Regions from separate parts of the Homo sapiens genome. Here regions 1, 2, 4, 5 and 6 are each linked to region 3. The links are contacts of gene promoters, found by promoter capture Hi-C in blood cells and fetal thymus (Javierre and others, 2016). All regions are on one chromosome and are shown on one strand. The core of a region is centred on a gene start or on the middle of the fragment in contact, and the rest is flanking DNA. Distances in the headings are between cores, read along the strand shown.

Region 1 (2,883 bases), core at 37-2,536, 850 kb before region 3:
TCACCACACCTGGCTAATTTTTGTATTTTTAGTAGAGATGGGTTTCACCATGTTGGCCAGGCTGGTCTTGAACTCCTGACCTCAGGTGAGGAGGTCCGCCTCGACCTCCCAGAGTGCTGGGATTATAGCTGTGATCCACCACCCCCGGCCTCCTTTTAGCATTATTATAGTATTTTTGCATTTAAAACTTTAATCCAACTGTAGTTCATTATTGTGGATGACGCTCATACAACCATGAGGTAAATATTTGGCTTTCTTTTACCCAGTAACAGCAAACAACTGCTTTGACTTAATTTCATTTCCTTGGCAACTTTCTGACAGATAATATCCATATTTGTACTTAAAGTTGAAAAAGAAAACGAGCACCACTTTTGCAATTTTTACTCACTGTGACCTAAAGAATTATAACCCTGAAAATGTGCTTTGGAAGTCTGTCATGGTTATTTCTCTTTTTAGGCATCTTTTCAGGGCACACCCGTCTCTGCATCACTGTCTGTTTCCTTGTGTCACAAATTTCTGTTCTTTTTTTCTCTCCCTGTTCCCTCTCATTTATTTTTTCTCCTAATCTCTCCTTTTTCTTAACCACCTATAATGTTAATCACTTTAAATGCTTTTGACTCCTTTGTTTTGGTAGTTTAATTATATTTCATAGTCTCTATGCTTCTTTGTTTTGGAATAAGTTTTTATTTATCTAACTGTGAATTTCACTAGAGTTGTAAAATGTATGCCGAACATAGGATTTGGGGATTGCAAGCATTTACAGCTGATATTCAATTTCTTTCTTTTCACCACAAAAACGATTTTAGAACATGAAAAATATCTTTGGAGAAACAAAAAAATCAATTTCCTCATCATTTTATGGGTCTACATTTTTCAATATAATCATATGGGATAAATGTTTGCATTCTGCTATTGGCTTGTGAACATTTACCTATATTTCTATGTGGTCTTGTTAGGGACAGTATACCTAAGTGGATAAAAGGCTGTGTGGTTGAATTTGGCTTCTTGTTTACAAAAGAGTGATCCTTAGTGATCTACTTAGCCTCTCTGTTCCTTTTCTCTTTCACTGAGATGAGAAAACCTATCCTTCCCAATTTTTTTGTGTGAGAATTAAAATGCAGCAAGAAAACACACACTCATAAACACATCTGCTTTGGCAAAGGAGCACATCAGAAGGGCTGGCTTGTGCGCGCTCTTGCTCTCTGTGTATGTGTATTATGTTTTATGTTACTGTAAAAGATGTAAAGAGAGGCACGTGGTTAAGCTCTCGGGGTGTGGACTCCACCAGTCTCACTTCAGTTCCTTTTGCATGAAGAGCTCAGAATCAAAAGAGGAAACCAACCCCTAAGATGAGCTTTCCATGTAAATTTGTAGCCAGCTTCCTTCTGATTTTCAATGTTTCTTCCAAAGGTAAGCATAAGAGTCAAAGAAGTCCCAACCCAGCTTTCCCTGAAAGTGACTCTCAGTAACTCTTTTGCTTTTTATAGGTGCAGTCTCCAAAGAGATTACGAATGCCTTGGAAACCTGGGGTGCCTTGGGTCAGGACATCAACTTGGACATTCCTAGTTTTCAAATGAGTGATGATATTGACGATATAAAATGGGAAAAAACTTCAGACAAGAAAAAGATTGCACAATTCAGAAAAGAGAAAGAGACTTTCAAGGAAAAAGATACATATAAGCTATTTAAAAATGGAACTCTGAAAATTAAGCATCTGAAGACCGATGATCAGGATATCTACAAGGTATCAATATATGATACAAAAGGAAAAAATGTGTTGGAAAAAATATTTGATTTGAAGATTCAAGGTAAGTGTTCATTCCCTTAATTGCTTTATTTCAGTGTGGGTGCTATTTGGCAAGTTGGAAAATAGCATTTCTAATATTCCCCAGCGCTGACCTCTGCCTCCAGGGGGGCTATACAGGAAACCAGATGCATGTCTCCTGCCCCAGTGGAGACTGTGGTCCAATGCGGGAATGGGATCCACACATCTGATAGACCCTCAAGTCTACCTGCCTACAACTCTGTCTTCAGGTGGTTACAGGAATGTGGGGTTGGGTGAAGAACCTGGATTAAGGTGGCATTAATCGGGAGGGGGACACAGGTAGGCCGAGGGAAAAGGCAACTGTTCCAGGTTGCTGATGAATCGGCGAGCTAAGAGTGGGGCGAGAAGAAGAGGCTGACTGGAGAGCAGCGGGCCTTTCATCGACAGAGCCCATTTCAAGCCAGGCTGCCCTGAAGGAGGAGTTATATGGCAGAAAAGGGCTGGAAACAACATATTTAAGGATGAACAGCCCTTATTTTGGATCTGCTTGTCAGAGTGATACAAGGTGGCAGGTGATTTTTGCTGATATGTGTAGAAGATGCACAAGGTGTGGCTTTGTATATCTCTGCCTGTACTGGGAGGACAGGAGTGGATATTGAGGATGGGGTTAGGGAGACTAGTTAGAAAGCTGCTGCTGTAATCCAAGTGGAGTGAGGACCAATTAAATCAGATTTTTTTTGCATGCGGCCTGGGTATCATTAGGTTCTAAAGCTCCCTGGGGGATTCTAATGAGCTGCCAAAGTCAATCGCCACTGGCCTAGACCAAAGGGTGCCTCTAAAATAGGAAGAATGAGGATAATAAGGGTCAGGCATAGAGAAAGGTGGCTTAGGCAAGGGAGAGAAGGTAGAGAAAGTGGAATCGAAATGCCATTGAAGTTGAAAGCCCGGGGGGATGCTGGGGAAGTAGTGACAAGAAGGGAAAAGAAGAAGCTGCGCTTGACTTGGGGAGGCAGACAGGAACCCCAGCATGAGCACAGGCCAGCCATTCAGTGAGCAAATAAGCATTTCTGTGCTTCACACAGAAAATATCACCAGAAGCAGGGACCCCACCTTCTTCC
Region 2 (2,828 bases), core at 231-2,730, 530 kb before region 3:
TCTCCTGCCTCAGCCTCCTGAGTAGCTGGGACTACAGGCATGTGCCACCACGCCGGGCTAATTTTTGTATTTTTAGTAGAGACGGGATTTCACCATGTTGGCCAGGATGGTCTCGATCTCTTGATCTCGTGATCCGCCCACCTCAGCCTCCCGAAGTGCTGGGATTACAGGTGTGAGCCACCGCACCCGGCCAAGATATGAACTATTTTTTAAAAAATATTTGTATGTTTTAGAGAAGGGAGTCTTGCTGTGTTGCCCAGGTTTGAGTGCAGTGGCTATTCACAGGCACAATCTTAGCACATTGCAGCCTCTGGCCTCAAATGATCCTCCTGTCTCAGGCCCCTGAGTAGAGGGGACTATAGGTGTGTGCCACTGCATCCAGCTGCACTCTTTTAACATACCAGTTGGTTTACATATTTTCAGTGGACTCATAAATGTCATAGTTTTTTTTTAGTAGTTTTAATTTGTTTAAATCAGGATCCAAATAAGGTTCACAAATTGGAATTGATTAATATGTCTTTTAAGTCTCTGAAGTTTTCCCTTCATCTTTTTTTCTCCCTCGTAACTTATTTGTGGAAGGGATCAGGTTGTTTGTCCTATAGCGTTTCCCACTGCCAAGATTTTGAAGGTTATATTCTCCACAGTATAGTTTTACGCCTTCTTCTGTTGTTTCTATTTCCTATAAATTGGTAATTGGATCTAGAGGTTAGTTTTTTGTTTGTTTTGGCTTCGTTGTTTTGGGGTTTTTTTTGGGGCAACATTGCTTTGTAGCTAGTGTTGTGACCCCCCTTCAGGGACACACAGTGTCTGGCTGTCTCTCATTTCTCTGATTTTAGTAGCCATTGCTGATCAGTGTTTCTATTTCAGTCATTCGTTACAGACTAAAAAGAATAAACCTGTGTGCATTCTCTGGCTACCATGCCATATTTATTCTTGGACTTCCTAGCCCTTATAAATGTTCTGTGCAGTAAATAATTTTTAAATGTGTATATAAAAGTAATTGGTTTCAAGTGACCTCCCAAAGCCAGGTTCAAATAGTTGCAAGATGTTTTCTTGGATTAAAAATAAGCTTATCTCTTGTTCTAATGGATTTTCATAGCCTTGATTATTTGTGTTTTATACTTCATTAGATTGTTCTTCCGATGCATTAGAAGTAAGGCAGAGGGGAAACGCTGGTGTGGAAGTATTCCATGGCAGGTAGGAATTATTCATCTGTTTTCAAACCTGCTGTGTTAAGACTTTTAATATGCAGCATCACCTGAAAATACCTTGAAGTTCACGTAAATGAGTTGGTCTTCATCAGACTGTCTCCGAAAGATAGTTTTCTTTAAGCAAGGTAGGCCCTGTTGGGACTTTTATTCAAAGGATCATTTAGTCGTAATCAAGATTAATTATTTGCATCCTATTTCACTTAGTAAATATTTTTTGAGGTCTTAAATGTAGTCAGTATTCTTTTACTCAAGGAAAAAAATAGATTTCCTTGACTAACTCTTGTATCTTTTTATAGAGGAATTTCTACTTGATACTGGTATAAGCTAAGTATAAGCATAAGCTCCTAGTATGTTAGAACTAGGAGGAGCATCTCCTAATAGGAGAAGCCCTACAGATATTCAGTACGTGAGGAACTAGAAGTAGGGAGGTGATAAGACTTGTTTTGGCAGAGGTGTGGCTTGAACTTACGATTCTAGATTACCACAGTAAAATCCTCCTAAAGCCAAAATCAAAGCAAGTGTTTTAAGACAATGTTTAGGTTTGGGGAAAAGTTCATCTTAAGAGAATAGTTTTTTTCCTGAAAAGTATACACTGTGGCCATTGTGATTGTAAAAGCACTTTGGTTTGTCACTACTTTTCCTTGAGGCCTGGAAAAGAGTGATCATGGACAGAGAAGGAACCAAGCTTCGAAAGTATCGTGAAGAAATGAGTCCTTTGTGGGTTTGGCACGTCATCTTTTCTAGACGTGGAAATGGTACCAAGAATGTTCAGGAAATATTGGACTGCTTTTACTGTGTTTCCATTTCTTCTGCAGAATAATCCTAAGTGAATTAATGCAGGAACAGAAAACCAAATATCATATGTTCTCACGAGCAGGAGCTAAACATTGAGCACCCATAAACATGGGAACAATAGATACTGTGAACTACTGGAGAGGGGAGGAGGGCATGGGTTAAGAAACTATCTATTGGGCACTATGCTCACTGCCTGAGTGCAATATACTCATATAACAAAGCTGCATATGTACCCCCTGTATATAAAATAAAAGTTGAGATGAAAAGGAAAGGCATTCTAGATACGAAGTTTGTATTAATATTTTATATGAAGATTAATTATTTTGTCTTTAGGATCCTGATTCCAAAGAACATTCTGTATCCAATAAGTCTCAGCATGCATCTGAGACATTTCATCATTCTTCCAACTGGCTGAGAAATCCATTCAAGGTACTTGACAAGAATCAAGAACCAGCTCTCTGGAAACAGCTCATCAAAGGTGAAGGTGAGGAAAAGAAGGCTGATAAGAAGCAAAGAGAAAAGGGAGATCAGCTTTTCGATCAAAAGAAAGAACAGAAGCCTGAAATGATGGAGAAAGACCTCTCATCTGGCCTGGTACCAAAGAAAAAACAATCTGTAGTTCAAGAGAAGAAGCAAGAAGAGGGAGCAGAGATTCAGTGTGAGGCAGAGACTGGAGGCACACACAAAAGAGACTTTTCTGAAATTAAATCTCAACAGTGCCAAGGTAATGAGCTTACAAGACCATCTGCATCTTCTCAGGAGAAATCAAGTGGTAAGAGTCAAGATGTCCAAAGAGAATCAGAACCTCTGAGAGAAAAGGTT
Region 3 (2,866 bases), core at 161-2,660:
ATTGTTACACACAACAATATGGATGAATCTCATAGACGCACTGTTGGGCAAGAGAAGCCAGACATAAAATTGTACGTGTTATGTATTTCATCCATAGCAAGTTCAAATATTGGTAAAACTAATCTATGGTGATAGAGGTTAAAATAGTGGTAATCCTTGTCGGATACTGAATGGGAAGGGGCATGAATGAGCTGGAAAGGTTCCACATCTTGATATGGATGGCAGTTACATGGGTATGCATATGTAAAAAATTATCATTCTGGACACTTTTGATTTGTGCGCTTTACTGAATGTTATACCTCAAAAACAAAAAGTAAAACAAAAAATCAGATCATATGTCTTGATTTCGCGTCTAACAATAGGATCACTGGCTTTCCCTATAAACACTCATATTGATGTCCTATCGCATTAAAGTTCCTGGATACTCACTCTCCTCTCCCTCGCTGGGAAAGACATATTTGAGAACTCTTCATAGTCTGACAGACAGGAGAACCACACTTATTTCAGGCAGGGTTGGAAGAGTAGGGCGGAGGAGATGTAAATACTGCATCTGGGAAGTAATCTTTTCCCCCAGCACCTAGTAAACGATCAATACAAGTACAATAATGTCTATTGATAAATAACATTGTCCAACATTGGCTACTATCTGATACATACAGCATTTGCCACACACTTTCTAACAGGCACTAGGCAATGCACTAATTGTTTCCCACGTATTTTCTTAATACTTATATAATTCTACAGAGCTGTCCCATTGTTAGTCTTGTCCTACAGATAGGAGACGCAGGTTGTTGGAGGGTTGGTTCAGTTACTTGCCTAAGGCCTTACAGAAAGTTTAAGTGGTGCATGGAGATCTCAACTCAGATTAGTCTGAATTCAGAACCTGGGCTGTAAACCACTCGCTATGTTATGAATGGATGGTGTCCAAGCCCTGCCTGCATGTTATATAACACACTGGACCAAGTGCTGTGGCATTCCGAATGGGGCCGAAGCGGCTGCGGCTGCCGACATTGGCGATGGACTCCCCGAGGCCCTTCGTCCCACTAACTGCACACAGGTGGTCCCCGGGGCCAGAGAGCCGCCGGCGCTCTCTCCCCGAAGACCACGCCTTCGCCTCCAGCCAGTTTGCTTGGGGAATCAGAAAGGTGCCCAGGGCCCAGAAACCATTAAGTTTTTTCCGACTTCAAAAACACACACCGGAGGTAGGCGTGGGCGTTACCCGCCTCACTCCTGGGGGCAGGGAGAACCAACGCGAAAATCCCCAGAGAGGCGGAAGAAAAACCTGCCTGCGAGAGAATAGGATGGAGATGGGAAAAGCCTGGGGAAGAGAGAGTTATGCGGCAGGAATAGCAGAAAAGCGTACTAAGCAAAAAGAAAGGTGTCCCACTAACTCCGAAGTTAAGTGGGTGTCGACGCAGCCCCCTCTATTGCGCTTGCGCAGTGCTGCCTCCCTGAGCACCCCGCCCCTTCCCGCCGCTGAGGATTTACTCGTCTCTTGGCAACCATTCACCCGAAGAGCCAATCAGAGGGCAGCCCTCGCCCCGCCCCTGCCGTCAGGGCCGGGCGGAAGGGTCCCGAGGGGACTGGCTCCGCCACGCCCCGCCCCTGGCTCCCCCGGGAGGGCGGCTCAGGGGCGGGGACGGGGGCGTGGTCCCGCCGTATAAGAACGGAGGGGGCGGCGGCGGGACGGCTCACTCGGTGCCGCTGCCTAGGGGCTGTAGAGGTCGCGCCGCTCCTGCTGGGGCCTGCCCACGCCAAGGACCTGCCTCTGTCGCCTCCTCTTCTATTGCCCAGGTGAGTCCGCGACCCCCCTCCTCTAAAGGTGCGGCGATGCGGCAGCAGCCCCAGGGAGCCGCGAGCTCACTTAGTGGGGGTCCGCCCCCACTAAGTGGTGCTCAGGTCTTTGCCCAGCCTGGTAGGGGGCAGGCGGACCCGAGGGGAGCTGCGGACAGGTGCCGAGACCCGGTGCTCCTTTCCCCTCCTGCTCCCTCGAGGACCCCCGCCCCTGACACACCCGTCCCAAAGGGCCAGAAGAGACGCTCCGAAAGGGAGCTACAACTTTCCAGAGACCTGGGGCTTGGCAAACTCCAGCGAGTTCCTGCTCCGCGCGTCCTGCAGGCTGCGCGCTGGCCAGGCGCGGGCAGGGCGTCTGAAGAGTGTGTGATCGGCGCCTCCGCTCCTACCTGGATCAGACGGCGCCCCCCGCCACCCATGCCTCCCTTCCTGGCTTGCAGTCCCTCGGGCTCGCCCCGGCGCTCCCGCGGGCGCGCACACCTTCGCCGGCCCGCCGAGTGTGAATTCGAATTCGGCGGTTTCACTAGGCGCAGCTGGAGACGCAGCGGTCCGGGGCTTGGATCTGGTTGGGGAGGGGAGGGGCGCTTCCTAGGCTCATTGCCAAGTCCTGAGTTTTAAGGAGAAGGGCGGAGATCCTTAAATTTAATGCGCTCACATCAGACTGTGGACACCATGAGCAGCAAAGGGATCCAAGCCAGTGACTTGTGCGCTGCGCGTCTCTCAGAAACTTCTTGGGAATGCGGTGTCTGTGAAACCTGCTTCCTCTCCTTTTGAAAATGAAACTTGCTTTACTGCGTAGGTGAAAAGCCACGGCAAGTGGGTCGACTCGGACGGATACCGGTGCGGCTGCCCCGGGAGGTGTCGCAGTTCGGGGACTCCCTTCGCACTGGTCGCGAGGCAGGAGGGAGCAGGGTGGGAGGCGAGTCAGAGGAGGGTGACTTACCTGAAGAATACAGGTTGGTAGCCTGCACACCTGAACTCAACGCTGGCGGGCGAGAAAACCAAGCAGCGCTACCTCCAAGTAAGGGCGCTCCCCTGGAGAAATGAATGCCTGGCGAGCTTCTGGAGAACC
Region 4 (2,938 bases), core at 113-2,612, 830 kb before region 3:
CAGTGGGTTGCAGTGACTTGGTGACTCAAGTTCACCAATAAGTTTGCCACCTCAGGACCACTGTACATGCTGTTCCTATTATACATGCTGTTCCCACTGCCCACACTTTTCACCTGGCTCTTCACCTGTCCACATTCTTCTTTCAGAGTTCAGACAGAAAGTCATTTCCTGGGGGAGACCTTTCCTAACTCTTGAACTCCACTGTAACGTGAATCTTGTGTGAGACCATCTCTGTGTCCAGTTCTGTGCCCATGAAGTTCAATGTAGTAGAAGACTCACAGGTATCGAAGCCAGGAAGTTCTGACTCTCTCTCTCACTGGATTTGTAAGCTTGAGTAATTTATTCAGCTTCTGTAAACACTGATTTTCTCATCTGCTAAATGAGGATAACACCTCACAAGGTTAGAGTGAGGACTAAATGGAAATAATGTATGTAATGTAACAAATATATCCTTGTGTACAGAATGCATCTGAAAACTGTGAGCTTTATTTCTGGCATGATACTCAAGAAGGAATATCCTGGATGGCACATATAAATGGGCTAGTTATTGGAAAGACACACAGCTCATTATAAATTGATAAATAAGCACTCTGTAAGGTGACTTAGTCTGCTATGAGTTTGATTCATCTGAGTCAGTTTCATAATGTTGCCTCACATGGAACAAATGGATGATAAAATCCTACACCAGAGGTATTTAAAGCTAAAGAACAGACCTGTGAGGCCACCTCGCAAATCCTAGATTGAGTCACCAGCCTTCTGTCACTTCCCTGGCTTCATAAGCAGGGTTTTCCTGAAGAAAAAATGCCAGGACATTACTTAAGTACATGGCATCTTTCTGGTTTATTTATAGCAACACAGAACAAAAGGATGAGGAAACAAGGGAAAATTCTGATCTTTTTAATTGCCTACCAGACAATGACATTACAAAAAAGAAACTACAGGCCAACAACTCTCACAGATACAGATGCAAAATTTTTCAAAAAATATTAACAAATCAAATTTGACTGACAATGTATAAAAAGGACTATACATTACAACCAAGTGGGATTAATCTCAGGTATGCAAAGCTGGTTCAACATTTGTAAATCAATTAGTATAATCTATCATATCCACAAGCTAATGAAGAAAAATCACATGATCCTATAAGTAGATACAAAAAAAGAATTTGACTCCTGTTTATCAACACCTGTTTATCAAAAAAACTTTTGGTAACTGGGAAGAGAGGGAAACTTCCTCAACTTGATTAAAAAAAAATCTACAAAAAAGACATGCACCTAACATTTTACTTAACAATGAGAAACTCTAAACTTTCCAGTAAGATCAGGAATCAGGATGTTTCCTCTCACCACTGTTTCTCAACATCATATTAGAAGTCTTAGCTAGTGCAATAATACAAGAAAAGGAAATAAAATGTATGCAGGTTGGGAAGAAATAAATAAAACTATCTTTGTAGATGACATGATCGTTTGTGTAGAAAATCTGAAAGAATCAACAACAAAATAATACTGGAACTAATAAGGGATTATATTAATAGCAAGGTTGTATTAAATAATTCTTACAAGGTTAATATTAAAAAGTCCATCAGTTTCCCGTATACCAACAATGAACAAGTGCAATTTGAAATTAAAGACATAATACCATTTACATTAGCACTCAAAAAATGAAATACTTAGGTATAGATTTACATGAAGAAAACTACAAAACTCTAATGAACAAAATAAAGGAAGAACCAAATAAATGGAGAGCTATTTTATGTTCATGGATAGGAAGACTCAATGTTGCCAAGATATTAATTCTTCCCAACTCAATCTGTAGATTCCGTGTAATCCTGGTCAAAATCTCAGCAAATTGGGCTGGGTTTGGTGGCTCTTGCCTGTAATTCCAGCATTTTGGGAGGCTGAGGTGGGCAGATCACTTGAGGTTACGAGTTTGAGAGCAGCCTGGCCAACATGGTGAAACCCCGTCTCTACAAAAAGTACAAAAATTAGCCGGGCATGGTGGTGTGCACCTGTAATCCCAGCTACTTGGGAGGCTGAGGCAGGAGAATCGCTGGAACCTGGGAAGTGGATACTGCAGTGAGCCAAGATTGTGCCACTGCACTCCAGCCTGGGAGACAGAGTGAGACTCCATCTCAAAAAAAAAAAAAAAAAATCCCTGCGAACTATTTTGTGGATATTAAAGTGATTCTCAAGTTTATATAGAGAGGCAGAAGTCCCAGAATAGCCAATATAATATTGAAGGAGAACAAAATTGGAGAACCAAACTGCCCCACTTCAAGATGTACTATAAAGCTACAGTAATCAAAATAGTATGGTATTGGTGAAAGAAGAGACAAATAGATCAAATGGAACAGAATAGAGAGCCAGAGAAACCCATATAAATTTCATCGTCTTGTCCAAGCTTGTCCAACCCTCAGCCCGCGGGCACCATGCAGCTCAGGATGGCTTTGAATGTGGCCCGACACAAATTTGCCAACTTTCTTAAAACATTATGAGATTTTTTTTCTGTACTCATCAACTGTTGTTAGTGTTAGTGTATTTTATGTGTGACCCCATTCTTCTTCTTCCAGTGTGGCCCAGGGAAGCCAAAGGATTGGACACCCCTGATTTGACAAAGGAGCAAAAGCCAAACAATGGAGAAAGAATGGTCTCTTCAACAAATAATGCTGGAACAACTTGACATCCACATACACAAAGAGAAAAATGAATCTAGACACAGATTTAACAGCCTTCATAAAAATCAACTCAAATTAATTACAGACCTAAATTTGGTGGCCTGGATACTAAATTTATTTATTTTAAGGAATAGTACAAATCAAAGAACTTAAGTGGATGTTTTGGCATAACTTACAGAAAAGGTAAAGGAAACCCCACCGTGCAGGCACTGCTTCGGTCCAGAGAGGTCACCCCGTGGCTACAGGAAACGAGCCTAAGGCTTA
Region 5 (3,064 bases), core at 490-2,989, 880 kb before region 3:
CAGTGACACTGTATGGGACAGCACAGCTGCAGCGTGTTGGTTAAGATCCTGGCTCAGAAGTCAGATAAACACACGTTTCCATCCTGGTCCCTACTCACTAACTGTAATCAGGCAAGTTATGGCCACGTATCCTTGGCTCCCTCATTTTCAGGATGGGCACAATTGTGCCTACCTCGAGGAGCAGTTGTGAGGATGGGGTAACAGGGTGGAGATAAAGCACTTCACACAGTGCCTGGCAGAAGGTTAATGCTCAATAAATGTTCAGTGTTTGGTTATTTCCTAGGAAGCTCCTCAAAGGGCTCATACCACTCTCTAGACATTGCAGAGAGGTGGTCCTAAGACCTCAGTGCTGGTGTCTTCCCTGGAAGCTTCCCTTGTCCTAAGTGATATCACATAAAGTTGACTCAGGGGAGGACAAAGTTGGAGCAGAGGGAGAGTCAAAGGCCTCTAAACCAAACTTCTCACTACTTTTGAGACTTCCCTGGGGAAGTGAAGACTGCTAGTTGCTCACACAATGTTTGAGTGACCATGTGCCCTAATAAAAGACCGCAACTCCCAGGCTATCTTACAGTTAAGGGTGGTCAATAAGATGCAAGCAGACATTGTTAAATCTAAATGTACATTTCAGGACTTTCAGGAAGTCTTAAGAGGGGTCAGACAGTTTATATCTTCTCTCTTGTCTTTTGTCCCTTCACCTTTCCTCCTACTTCCTATGTGGAATTCAGACATGATGGCTGGAGCTCCAGCAGCCTTAAGGAAGTGTCTTTGAGGATGGGAGCCCTGTACTACTAATGATGGCAGAGCAAAAACAAAAGAGGCCTGGGTTCATGGACACCATGAAATCACGGTACCAACCTGGGCCTGCCCGCCTTCAGATTTCTTTTATATAAAAGAAACCACTTGTTTTGGTCTGTTTTGTACTGCTATAACAGAATACCTGAGACTGGGTAATTTATAAAGAACAGAGATTTATTTCTTGCAGTTCTAAAGCCTGGGAAGTACAAGGTACAGGGGCCTTCATCTGGTGAAAGGCTTCTTGCCGTGACATCCCATGGTGGAAGGTGGAAGGGCAAGAAAGCATGGACACGAGAGAGACCAGGAAGCAGTCCAAACTTATCCTTTTATCCAGGAACACGCTTCTGCGAGAAAAGCATTAATCTATTCACGAGGGCAGAGCCTCTTAAAGGTCCCACCTCCCAATAATGTTGGTTTGGGGATTAAGTTTCTAACACATGAACTTTGTGGGACACATTCAAACCATAGGACCTCCATACCATGTTTATTACTTTTGTTTTCTCTTATGTGTAGCAGCTATGAGCTAGTTATTTCTAAGCAGTGATTAATTCTACAAGTCCAGGTTATTATGGCATATAGTCAATGAAAGAAAGGGCTTGAGAAAATCAGTCCAGTCTTTATTCCTTCATCCTGCCTGCAGGGGGCGTCTAAGTCTGTGAACAACATTAGAGATACCTGTTCCAGTCAGTCTTTTTTTTTTTAATCGTTAAACCTGTTCATTATTTTTTTCTTCCATTGATCTCGTGTTCCAAAATATTGTGTTTCTACCGTCAGTTAAGTTTTGTTGGTGTTTTTGGTCATAAAAAACATTTAATAACCTGGGTGTGGTGATGCATGCCTATGGTCCTAATCCTAGCTACTTGGGAGACCGAGTCAGGAGGATTGCTTGACCCAGGAGTTTGAGGTTACAGTGAGCTATGATTGCACCACTGCACCGCAGCCTAAGCAATAGAGTAAGACCCTGTCTCAAAAAAATATATCAATAAATAAACAAAAAATAAACATTTAGCAACCATAGTGGATTTTGCTTTGTTTCGTTTTGTGGGCTGTCCAGCAGCTGATCTCCTTCTTATATTTGGGGAATTCTCCTAATAAAATAGAGCCTCTGATGGCCTAATACTTGTTGTCCCTGTCCTTCAGCAGCTGGACAAGGGCACACAAGGCTTAAGATTTACCAACTCTGCCGGGCACGGTGGCTCACGCCTGTAATACCAGCCCTTTGGGAGGCCAAGGTGGGTGGATCACGAGGTCAGGCATTTGAGACCAGCCTGGGCAACATAGTGAAACCCGGTGTCTACTAAAAATACAAAAAATTAGCCGGGCATGGTGGTGCATGCCTGTAATCCCAGCTACTCGGGAGGCTGAGGCAGGAGAATCACTCAAACCCGGGAGGCAGAGGTTGCGGTGAGCCGAGATCGTGCCATTGCACTCCAGCCTGCACAACAAGAGCAAAACTCTGTCTCAAAAAAAAAAAAAAAAAAAAAAAATTTGCCAACTGGATGGTCTCACCTGGGACTTTGCATCTGGAGCAAGTAACACAAAGCAGCAACCATGGTTTGGAATGCAGTCCACTGGGCAGTGACATCCCATGTCCTGGTGGTTCCAGTGGGTCGGTGTCTGGTGTCCAGTGGTATCCCAACCATGCCGCTTCTGTGGTGTGACCTTGGCTGAGCTCTTCATTGCTCAGCTTTTCCTGGCTACTGCGCATATCCAGAGTCTGGTCTTCCTGTCTTTTCATTTGCTCTGGAGCTGGCAGACATTTTCCCAAAGCAATTATTTTCTGCTTAAGTCAACTAGACTTGGTTTCTATTGCATGCAGCCAAGAATCTTGATGGATACACATGCTAAGCAACATGATTTTATCTATGATACCTGCAGAGTTGACATCATTCAACCAGAGCAAGAGACAGTGTTCATATTAGGCAACATAGCCTTAACTGGCAACACATGCACTTTCTTTTGAGCTTTTAAAAACATTGCTCCATTGCTATCATTGTAGACCCCCAAGGAGAAGGTACCCCAGCCTCCTGGAAACCACTGATATCATTGTATATCCTAATATTACAGATGAGAAAATGGAATCTCAGAGAGTTGAAGTGAATTGCTCCATGTGTCAGGCTATAGAAAGAATTTCTCAATGAGGGTCATTAGCCATTCATTCATGCACTACTCCTGGCCTGTGGAACTCAGAGTCAGGTAGGAGAGATGGGTGATTCTTGGGGAAACAAAAAGGATCCAAATAACATGGAAACGAGCAGGTTAGGATATT
Region 6 (2,777 bases), core at 239-2,738, 550 kb before region 3:
CGGGAGGCTGGAATGGGAAGATCACTGGAGCCTGGGAGAACAAGGCTGCAGTGAGCTGAGACTGCACCACTTCCAGCCTGAGGGGCTGAGTGAGACCCTGTCTCCAAAAAAAAAAAAAAAAACAAATTGACATGACTATACTCATAGTACATAGTACATTGTATAATGTTTGTTACTTAACATTATACAAATGATTACTATGTCTTTTTATGTCTTTGTATTAATAACAATTAATGTCATTTTAACTTAGGTTTAAGTTCCATACAAACGTTAAAGGAAAAAGACTTTCAAGACCATTTAAAAAGAGGAAGATGATGGCTAAAAAGCACACGAAAAAGAGTGCCACATCAATAGAAAAATCAAAATTCAAACAAAAGTCAGATACCACTTCATACCTACTAAAAAAGGCACGCAATAACAAGCATTGTTGAGGACATGAAGAACTGGGAACCCTCATACGTTGCTGGTGGAAATATAAAATGGTATAGCCACTTTGGAAAGTGGTTTGGCAATTTCTTAAAAAGTTAAACAAACTAACCATATGAACTAGCAATTCCACTCACAGGTTTATCTGCCCAAGAGAAATGAGAACAAATGTTCATATAAAGACTTTAACGTTAGGCCGGGTGCGGTGGCTCATGCCTGTAATCCCAGTACTTAGGGAGGCTGAGGCAGATAGATTACCTGAGGTCAGGAGTTTGAGACCAGCTTGGCCAACATGGTGAAACCCTGTCCCTACTAAAAATATAAAAATTAGCTTACGTGGTGGCTCGAGCCTATAATCCCAGCTACTCGGGAGGCTGAGGCAGGAGAATTGCTTGAACCTGGGAGCTGGAGGTTGCAGTGAGCCAAGATCATGCCACTGCACTCCAGCTTGGGTGACAGAGCAAGACTCCATCTCAAAAACAACAACAACAAAAAACAAAAAAACAAAAACAAAAACAATAAAACAGACTTTAACATTAATGTTCATAGCAATATTATTCCTAATAATTCCAAAGGGAAAATGATCCAAATGTCCACCAACTGGTGAATGAACACAATGGAATATTACTCAGCAATAAAAAGGAGTGAAATACTGATACATGTGCAACATGGGTAAACCTCACAAGCATTATGTAAGTGAAAGAAGACAGAGGCAAGAGACTACATATTACATGACTCCATTATATGAAATGTCCAGAAAAGGCAAACTTATAAAGACAGAAAGCATATCAGAGGTTGCCTTGGGACTAGCTGGGGGTGGCAGTTGGGATTGACTGCACACAGCTTTGAGGAAAGTTTTTGAGTGATAGAAATGTTTTAAAACTGGATTCTGGTGGTGATGGCACAACTTTATAAATTTACTTAAACAATGAATTGTGGGCCAGGTGTGATGGCTCATGCCTGTAATCCCAGCACTTTGGGAGGCCGAGGCGGGTGGATCACCTGAGTTCAGGAGTTCGAGACCAGCCTGGCCAACAGGGTGAAACCCCATCTCTACTAAAAATACAAAAATTGGCCAGGCGTGGTGGCGGGCACCTGTAATCCCAGCTACTCGGGAGGCTGAGGCAGGAGAGTCACTTGAACCCAGGAGGCAGAGGTTACAGTGAGCCAAGATCATGCCACTGTACTCCAGCCTGGCAACAGAGTGAGACTCTGTCTCAAAAAAAAAAAAAAAAGAATTGTGGCCGGGCGCGATGGCTCAAGCCTGTAATCCCAGCACTTTGGGGGGTCGAGGCGAGTGGATCACCTGAGTTCAGGAGTTCAAGACCAGCCTGGACAACATGGTGAAACCCCATCTCTACTAAAAATACAAAAATTAGCTGAGCGTGGTGGCACAAGCCTATAATCCCAGCTACTCAGGAGGCTGAGGCAGGAGAATCACTTGAACCCAGGAGGCGGAGGTTGCAGTGAGCCAAGATCCTACCATTGCACTCCACTCCAGCCTGGGTAACAGACAAGACTCCAACTGAAAAAAATACCTGTACATTTACCAAAAAAAAAAAAAAAAAAAAAGAAGAAGATAAAGAGCCTGCATTGAACCACTTTTGGAATAATATTTTAAGAACAGTGAAATTTGGAATCTAGTACTGAAAAAATATTGGTATAACAAAATAATTTGTAAAGTCTCTTGGCTTTACAAATTATAACCACATTTGTTCTCACTATAGTATCATCCTGATCGAGCCTATGTCAAAGGACAAGTTGAAAACAGTCATATGTTTGAAAGGCACAAAATGAAATGAAATGAAATTGAATTACCATTATATATCTTCAAACAAAAAGAATGAAACAGAGGAGGGTGGGCCTCAGTTTGGTTTTTATGTTACTAGGCTGCTACCTAGTGGTCATTTATAAAATGGCAGGACTTGGGTTTTTGGTTTTTGTCTTGGATTTGTTGAGCCATGTCTCTACACCACAGCAAATACCTAAACACTTACCGATGTGTGGGTTAAATATCTGAATGCATTGCTGAATAATTTATGCTTTATAAAAATACTATAGGCTGGGCGCAGTGGCTCAGGCCTGTAATCCCAGCACTTTGGGAGGCCGAGGCAGGTGGATCACCTGAGGTCTCAGGAGTTCGAGACCAGCCTGGCCAACATGGCGAAACCCCATCTCTACTAAAAATACACAAAATTGCTGGGCGTGGTGGTGGGTGCCTGTAATCCCAGCTACTTGGGAGGCTGAGGCAGGAGAATTGCTTAAACCTGGGAAGTGGAGGTTGCAGTGAGCCGAGATCACGCCACTGCACTCCAGCCTGGGCGACAGAGCGAGACTCCGTCTCAAAAAAA

Evidence for each region. Contacts are between HindIII fragments. The CHiCAGO score rates a contact against its expected background, and 5 or more counts as called.
Region 1: a contact is called between the fragment with the promoter of CD2 here and the fragment with the promoter of TENT5C-DT in region 3, in 1 of 17 cell types (non-activated CD4 T cells). The highest score is 5.4, in non-activated CD4 T cells.
Region 2: a fragment that was not itself captured here is called in contact with the fragment with the promoter of TENT5C-DT in region 3 in 2 of 17 cell types (neutrophils and megakaryocytes); the score reaches 6.4 in neutrophils.
Region 4: a contact is called between a fragment that was not itself captured here and the fragment with the promoter of TENT5C-DT in region 3, in 1 of 17 cell types (total CD4 T cells). The highest score is 5.7, in total CD4 T cells.
Region 5: a contact is called between a fragment that was not itself captured here and the fragment with the promoter of TENT5C-DT in region 3, in 1 of 17 cell types (non-activated CD4 T cells). The highest score is 5.5, in non-activated CD4 T cells.
Region 6: a fragment that was not itself captured here is called in contact with the fragment with the promoter of TENT5C-DT in region 3 in 4 of 17 cell types (neutrophils, naive B cells, naive CD4 T cells and 1 more); the score reaches 6.6 in neutrophils.

Annotation. Positions count from the first base shown.
Region 1 is chr1:116,753,144-116,756,026 of GRCh38, forward strand. CD2 (CD2 molecule) reads left to right here and starts at 1,287. Exons shown (of 5, transcript NM_001767.5): 1 at 1,287-1,410; 2 at 1,488-1,808. The coding sequence starts at 1,350. RefSeq lists promoters at 1-1,404, 962-1,404 and a silencer at 1-40. The HindIII fragment of the contact is 7,255 bases long and covers 1-2,883 here.
Region 2 is chr1:117,072,531-117,075,358 of GRCh38, forward strand. It overlaps TTF2 (transcription termination factor 2), which reads left to right. Exons shown (of 23, transcript NM_003594.4): 4 at 1,131-1,197; 5 at 2,340-2,828. Among named protein-coding and RNA genes, the nearest start is that of TTF2, 14 kb to the left of the region's middle. The HindIII fragment of the contact is 827 bases long and covers 1,068-1,894 here.
Region 3 is chr1:117,604,360-117,607,225 of GRCh38, forward strand. It overlaps TENT5C-DT (TENT5C divergent transcript), which reads right to left and starts at 1,411. Exons shown (of 3, transcript NR_121626.1): 1 at 1,287-1,411; 2 at 430-577. TENT5C (terminal nucleotidyltransferase 5C) reads left to right here and starts at 1,689. Exons shown (of 2, transcript NM_017709.4): 1 at 1,689-1,794. RefSeq lists enhancers at 503-1,003, 1,004-1,504 and a silencer at 1,415-1,754. The HindIII fragment of the contact is 6,964 bases long and covers 1-2,866 here.
Region 4 is chr1:116,772,119-116,775,056 of GRCh38, forward strand. No RefSeq gene overlaps it. Among named protein-coding and RNA genes, the nearest start is that of CD2, 19 kb to the left of the region's middle. The HindIII fragment of the contact is 2,071 bases long and covers 328-2,398 here.
Region 5 is chr1:116,723,510-116,726,573 of GRCh38, forward strand. No RefSeq gene overlaps it. Among named protein-coding and RNA genes, the nearest start is that of CD2, 29 kb to the right of the region's middle. The HindIII fragment of the contact is 2,746 bases long and covers 367-3,064 here.
Region 6 is chr1:117,053,207-117,055,983 of GRCh38, forward strand. The region is part of intron 1 of CD101-AS1 (CD101 antisense RNA 1); the gene reads right to left. Among named protein-coding and RNA genes, the nearest start is that of CD101-AS1, 4.9 kb to the right of the region's middle. The HindIII fragment of the contact is 6,290 bases long and covers 1-2,777 here.